Linked DNA regions of Homo sapiens: region 1 is linked to region 2. Evidence: promoter capture Hi-C in 16 types of primary human blood cells and fetal thymus (Javierre and others, 2016). All regions are on one chromosome and are shown on one strand. The core of a region is centred on a gene start or on the middle of the fragment in contact, and the rest is flanking DNA. Distances in the headings are between cores, read along the strand shown. Region 1 overlaps POLH (DNA polymerase eta). Region 2 holds the start of MRPL14 (mitochondrial ribosomal protein L14).

The links. The method cuts DNA at HindIII sites, captures the fragments that hold promoters and counts their contacts. A CHiCAGO score of 5 or more calls a contact.
Region 1: a contact is called between a fragment that was not itself captured here and the fragment with the promoter of MRPL14 in region 2, in 2 of 17 cell types (erythroblasts and M2 macrophages). The highest score is 5.4, in erythroblasts.

Annotation. Positions count from the first base shown.
Region 1 is chr6:43,591,097-43,594,429 of GRCh38, reverse strand. All of the region lies in intron 4 of POLH (DNA polymerase eta), which reads right to left. Among named protein-coding and RNA genes, the nearest start is that of POLH, 17 kb to the right of the region's middle. The HindIII fragment of the contact is 3,573 bases long and covers 1-3,232 here.
Region 2 is chr6:44,125,817-44,128,703 of GRCh38, reverse strand. MRPL14 (mitochondrial ribosomal protein L14) reads left to right here and starts at 1,252. Exons shown (of 3, transcript NM_032111.4): 1 at 1,252-1,360. TMEM63B (transmembrane protein 63B) reads right to left here and starts at 1,150. Exons shown (of 24, transcript NM_018426.3): 1 at 1,026-1,150. RefSeq lists silencers at 470-629, 810-919, 960-1,359, 1,380-1,429, 1,460-1,519. The HindIII fragment of the contact is 11,989 bases long and covers 221-2,887 here.

The DNA.
Region 1 (3,333 bases), core at 197-2,696, 530 kb after region 2:
TTTAAAAATAAAGTTCCTCAGCACAGTGGCTTGCGCATTTTTTGCTTTTTTTTTAATTATCTGTTTTCCTGAAATACCAAGGCTTGCACATATTAAGAACAATAAATACTATTAAAACATCCATCATTTAAAACAATTTATACTAGTATATATTAGCTTTGGGAAACAAAAATATGAATAATTTACTGTAATTGTATGACTTTCTGGACCTTTTTAAACAGTTAGAGCTAAATTTTCTCTGCTTTAGATTTTTTTCATCATTGCTTTCCCAGATTGGGTAATGTTGCAATCCTGTGGCAATGTAGATTTTTAAATTTAATCCTTTATCTGTATTAACTGAACGGGACCACAGAAGATAAGCAGAATTCCCTTATTTCCCTACAATGCTTTTTACCTTTTCTCTAGTTGATAAGAAAAATCTATAAAATTTTGGTTTTTCTTCAATACCATGAAATGGACTACAGGAAATACTTCAGGTAGTTCTGGTGTTAAATGCCCATGAAAGCTGAGAAAAAACTTTTCTTTCTTTCTTTTTTTTTTTTTTTTTTTTTGAGACGGAGTCTCACTCTGTTGCTAGGCTGGAGTACAGTGGCGCAATCTCAGCTCACTGCAACCTCTGCCTCCTGGGTTCAAGTAATTCTCCTGCCTTACCCTCCCGAAAAGCTAGGATTATAGGCATGCGCCACCACACCCAGCTAATTTTTGTATTTTTAGTAGAGACAGGGTCTCACCATGTTGGCCAGGATGGTCTCAATCTCATGACGTCATGATTCGCTCACCCTGGCCTCTCAAAGTGCTGGGATTACAGGCGTGAGCCACTGTGCCCAGCCAAGAGTTTTTCTTGTTGAATTATCTTGGCACCTTTGTGGAAATGAATTGCCACCACACACACCCCAGCCTGAAAAGTGGGGATCTACTTGTATACTTTCTATTCTATACCATTAATCTACGTATTTTCTCACACCAATACCAAACTTCCCTAGTTACAAATTTATAGTTAAATCTTGAAATCAGGTAGTATGTCTTCCAACTTAGTTCTTTTTCAAAGTTGTTTGGCTACTCCACATTCTTTGCATTTCCATACAAATTTTAGAATCAGTTTGTCAATTTCTGTGGGATTTTGGAAGGGACTGCAATGAATCTATACGTCAATTTGGGGAGAATTGAGCACTAGTAAGATTTAGTCTTTTGATACATGAGGATAGTATAATCTTTCCATTGAATTTTATAATCTTTAATAATAATTATATGATCATTATAAGATAAAGCCAGACACAGTGGCACATGCCGATAGTTCCAGCTACTTGGAAGCCTCAAGTGGGAGGATCACTTGAGCATGAGTTCACAGGTAACATGGGCAACACAGTGAGACCCCATCTCAAAAATAATCATTATAAAACTGTTTTGTAAGGCCAGGTGCAGTGGCTCACGCCTATAATCCTGGCACTTTGGGACGCTGAAGTGGGAAAATTGCTTGAGGCCAGGAACTCATCAAGACCAGCCCGGGCAACATAGTGAGACCATGTCTCTGTGTTTTAAAATAATAAAGAAATGAATTAAGAAAAAACAAAGGGAAAAGAAAAGGCCCTTAGCTAACAAACCAGTTACAAAATGGCAATGATGGGAAAGTTTCACCTTGACAATTTCTGAGAAGTACTTTAAGTAAATCTTACTACTTAAACTTTACACACAAATAACTATTTTAGAAAATACAAGGCCAGGCGTAGTGGCTGACGCCTGTAATCCCAGCACTTTGGGAGACCAAGGCGGGCAGATCACGAGGTCAGGAGATCGAGACCATGCTGGCTAACACGGTGAAACCCCGTCTCTACTAAAAAAAATACAAAAAAATTAGCCGGGCGTGGTGGCGGCCAACAGTAGTCCCAGCTACTCGGGAGGCTGAGGCAGGAGAATGGCGTGAACCCGGGAGGTGGAGATTGCAGTGAGCCGAGATTGCACCACTGCACTCCAGCCTGGGCGACAGAGCGAGAAAGAGACTCCCTCTCCAAAAAAAAAAAAAAAAAAGAAGATACAAAGCTGCAAATGCAGGAGGGCTGAGCATGATTGCTAGCTCTTATAGGAGGCAAGATGGAAAAGTTGATGGAAAGCTCAGTATCAAGGTATTACAAATACCTCGCCTCTTTTCTTAGATTTGAAATATATTGTATCCATGAAAAATGATTTCTGGAAGGTTATATCCACTTAGATCAGCTAATTTCTGTTATCAGGTTTTTGTGGTTGCACACATCAAAGATTCAGGAATATGATATGAAATATTTCCTAGACATTGCACTGTTCTGAACATTACATATAATAAGATGCTGGCACTGCATCTGGGAGCTTAATATTTAAGTTGGACACACTAATGCAACAGACACAAGACATACAGAAATAGACCTCTCTATAAACATGGGCATTTTTAATAAAAAAATGTACATAGGTAAGAAAAGTAAGTGTAGAAGAAAGAGGAACACGTCCATCTGAGTTAACATTCAACTACCAAGGAAGGTATATACCATCTTCAGCCAGAGATAATAGAATGCTTCAACAATGCTCTGCAGCAAAAACCAATATAATGTGTAAGACTAGTTCTAATTCTGAGGTATGTGGATTTCAGAGGGTTTGTGAATCTCCTGAAAACTGCATGCAAAATTGTCTTATGTATAGATACAAATTTTTCGGAGGCCAGCAAGGGTCTATAGCTTTCAACAAATTTTTAAGAGTATGTAATTCTCAAATAAACTTTAAAGAGCCACAAATTCAAGGCATTATAAAACCAATTCCAAATATTTAAAAAAAAAAAAAAAATCAGGCTGGGTGCGGTGGCTCATGCCTGTAATCCCAGCACTTTGGGAGGCCAAGGCAGATGGATAACTTGATGCCAGGAGTTTGAGACCAGCCTGACCAACATGGCGAAACCCCGTCTCTACTAAAAATACAAAACTTAGCCAGCATGGTGGCATATGCCTATAATCCCAGCTACTCAGGAGGTTGAGGCATGAGGATCACTTGAACCCTGGAGGTGGAGGCTGCAGTGTGCCAAGATCTCACAACTGCATTCCAGCCTGGGTGACACCAAAAAAATCAGTGTTGCATATGGAAACTAAAAAAAAAGAAAGTTATGTAATAAGATGTGGTACAGAAAGGTAAGACCAAAGAACACCTTTCTTATTATGATAATTAAATTTCTGACTCTGGTCCCAGAATAATAAAATATCAAATATCAAAAGCTTATGTACCATGATTTTGCTTCCTCTATAAGTGGCACATCTTTATTGTCCATTATATTTTGTCCAAAGAACTAAAGGATCTGCAGCCTCTAGCTTGACATAC
Region 2 (2,887 bases), core at 3-2,502:
CAGCCTCATTGCTCCCCGGCTGCTGCAGACTGGTAATGGGTAGGCAAGCCCCAGCCCCCCAGGGCGGTGGAGTGCTCAGGCTTGCCCCGAGCGGCCAGACCTCTGCCCAGGGGACCCAGGCAGGGGGCAGCACAGCGCCCCAAGGGCAGCCAGCCCCTCTGACCTCTCCTCCCCACTTCCCAAGCGTCCTTTCCTTTTCTGGGGAACAAGGTGCCAAGCTTTGGGACTGTCCGCCTTAGGCGGTCAAGACAGCCAGGAGGGACAAAGCGGCGCCCCCTCCCCACAACAGGGCCTTTGCCCCACTCTCGGTTTCGCGTCTGAATCTTTTCCCCACCGCACCCTCCAACGCAGGCCCGGGCGGCTCATGAATGAACTGCACTGTGTGGGGCGCAAGGAGAGGACACGCTCCCGGGGCCGGCCGCCTCTCCAGCCCGCCGACCAGTCAGTCCCCAGAGCCGGGGGCAGCGGCCGGCCTCGTGCCAGCACCTGCGAACCCTGCCCTTGCCCGAGCCCGAGCCCTTACCCCGGACCGGCTTCGGGTGTACTCGCCCCCGGGAGCAGCAGAAAAAATAAAAGGCACAGAAGGCATCGGACTTGGCGACCCCGGGGTCCAAAACTCGGGGGCGGGGGCGGCTAGTTCCCCAAACGGCGGCGGACAGGCGGGGCGCAGCTGGCACCCCCGAGGGTCGCGCAGGGGACGCGCACCTGCACCGGGCAGGTGGGAGAAGAGTGGCACTCGGGGGCCGGGGGCGGGGGTCCCACCCTTTGGGATCTCCCCGGGGCTGGGGAGAGCCGGCGGCGCGTATCTGGACCTCCGGCAGGGGTTGGAGGACTCACATTTGGCTCGGGATGGTGCGGGGTTGGGGGCAGCGCGCGCCACCCCTGGGTCCCGCGGGCCCGGGCACCTCTGGGTCCCGCAGGAGGTTGAAGGGAGGGGACGCGCAGCTGAGTCCAGGTTTTTTCTTTGGGTGGTGGTGGGATCTTCGAAGAAAAGAGCGAGGGCTGGGTAGGGGTCGCGTACTCACCCCCAGGCGCAGACTCGGCTCCGGCTCGGAGCCCCGGGTTGGGGCGGGGCGGGGCTGGGGGAGGGGGAGGGGGAGTCGCTGGGCGGCTCGAGCTCCGGGCTCCTGCGGCGGCCGCGGCAGTGTATGGGGGAGGGGGAGCGGGGGGAGGGAGGGGGAGGGGGCGGAGCCCCGCAGGTCCCGCCCCGCACGCCGGCGCACGCAAGGTGCGCGCGCACTCTCAGATCGCGTCCGCCGGGCTGGGCCTGGCGCGCAGGCGCTAGGAAGAGGCCGCGTGGGGCGAAGGCGGCGCTTGGCTGGTGGGGCCCGCGGCGGGATTTTCCCGGGCGGCGAGAGCGGTATGGTGGGGGGCAGGGGTGGGCGTTAAGTCCTCATTCCCTCCTTCTCCTCTTCCTTTCTCTGCAGTAGGGGAGGCCCACTCCCCGGGGTGAGTGAGGAGAGGCCAGAGTGGGAGGCAGAGCGTCAGTGGGAGGGGTCCCGACGGGGAGGGGGGGGTCCCGACGGGGAGGGGGGTCCCGACGGGGAGGGGAGGCCCCTTACCCGGATCCTCCTCCCTTCCGCTCTCCGTGGGCTGCTTCTGCGACCCCCAAGTCCGTGGCCGGCGCTCACCTGCTTTCCCCGGGTTGCGGCGTCGACTTGGGGAGGGCGGGCTGCGTTCAGCCGTCGCTGGTCACTCCGGAGCGTCTCCTCCGGCTTCTCCGCTTTCCGCGCTCCCCTCCCCTTTCCCAACTTAGGTCTGGAGATGAGTTAGCCAGACGCCTCTGTGGTGTGAGGATTGAGTTTTTGCTTTCACTCTGTCAACGCTGATGAGTGCGCCCTCCCCCAGGCCAGGGGGTTCCCTGGTTTCTTATTTCACCAGAGACTGCATCTACCAGTGATTAAGACTGGAAAGATGAAGGGAGAGACTGAGACTCTTTCTATATATCACCCACACAAATAGATCATAAAGGCACAACGGGCACCAACCTGGTCATTTAATTTCTGGTTCCTGGAGGGGACAAAAAGGAAGTATTGCTTTCCACAGCCGACGATAAATGAACTTTGCCACCGTAAGAGACGGACGGGACTGAATTTATAAAGAGGTTAAAAGGGCATATGACAGACACCTCAGGCTACTTGGGAAACTCTGGGAGTTTGGGAGATAATTAACTCTCAGGGCTGGTGGTGGTGGGGAACTGCCACTGCTGAACAGAAGGACACTGCCCACCTGGGGGGTTTGGATCTTGTAGTTGGTCAGCGTCTCTGCTGTATGCTGGATTTTCAAGAGTTCATTAGTAGCTTGTGGAATGCAACTGTAAGGTTTGATTTATTGCAGTGTTTTTCAAACTGAATCCTATTGGTGAGTTGGAAATCAGTTTAGTAGATCACGGCCACTTGAAATAGAAAATATCAGAGGGTGTTGCACTTAGGGTATTGTTTCTTGACACTTCAGGTGTACACACACGTGTGAGTGTACTAGGAGGTGTTCTACAGTGTGTTTCTGTAGGTCGCAGTGAGAAAAATTTGAAAAGCGTTGTCTCCTGTGCCCTTCTATTTGCCCTCTTGCCTTTCTTTGCCTGAGTTTTCAGTCACTTAAAATTGTCTGAGGATGCAGTTAGCATGCCAGGAATATACAGTAAAGAACAAGGTGGATCTTCTTCACGGAGGTTACTGTGTGAGACGAAAGACAGTTCACTGTTCATCACTGGAAATACTGTACGTGCTACTGAAAAACAAGGATTTTATTGAGGTAAGAAGTTGGTTGGCTTAATTAGGAAGGGCAGTTTTTCAACTGTGAAAGAAAGGAAGATGGAGATGAAGCCCGTTTTTGGTAAAGTGCTTGGTGGGAAGGGTCTTTGTAGGTTTGGATTCTGGGAGTTGTGAAA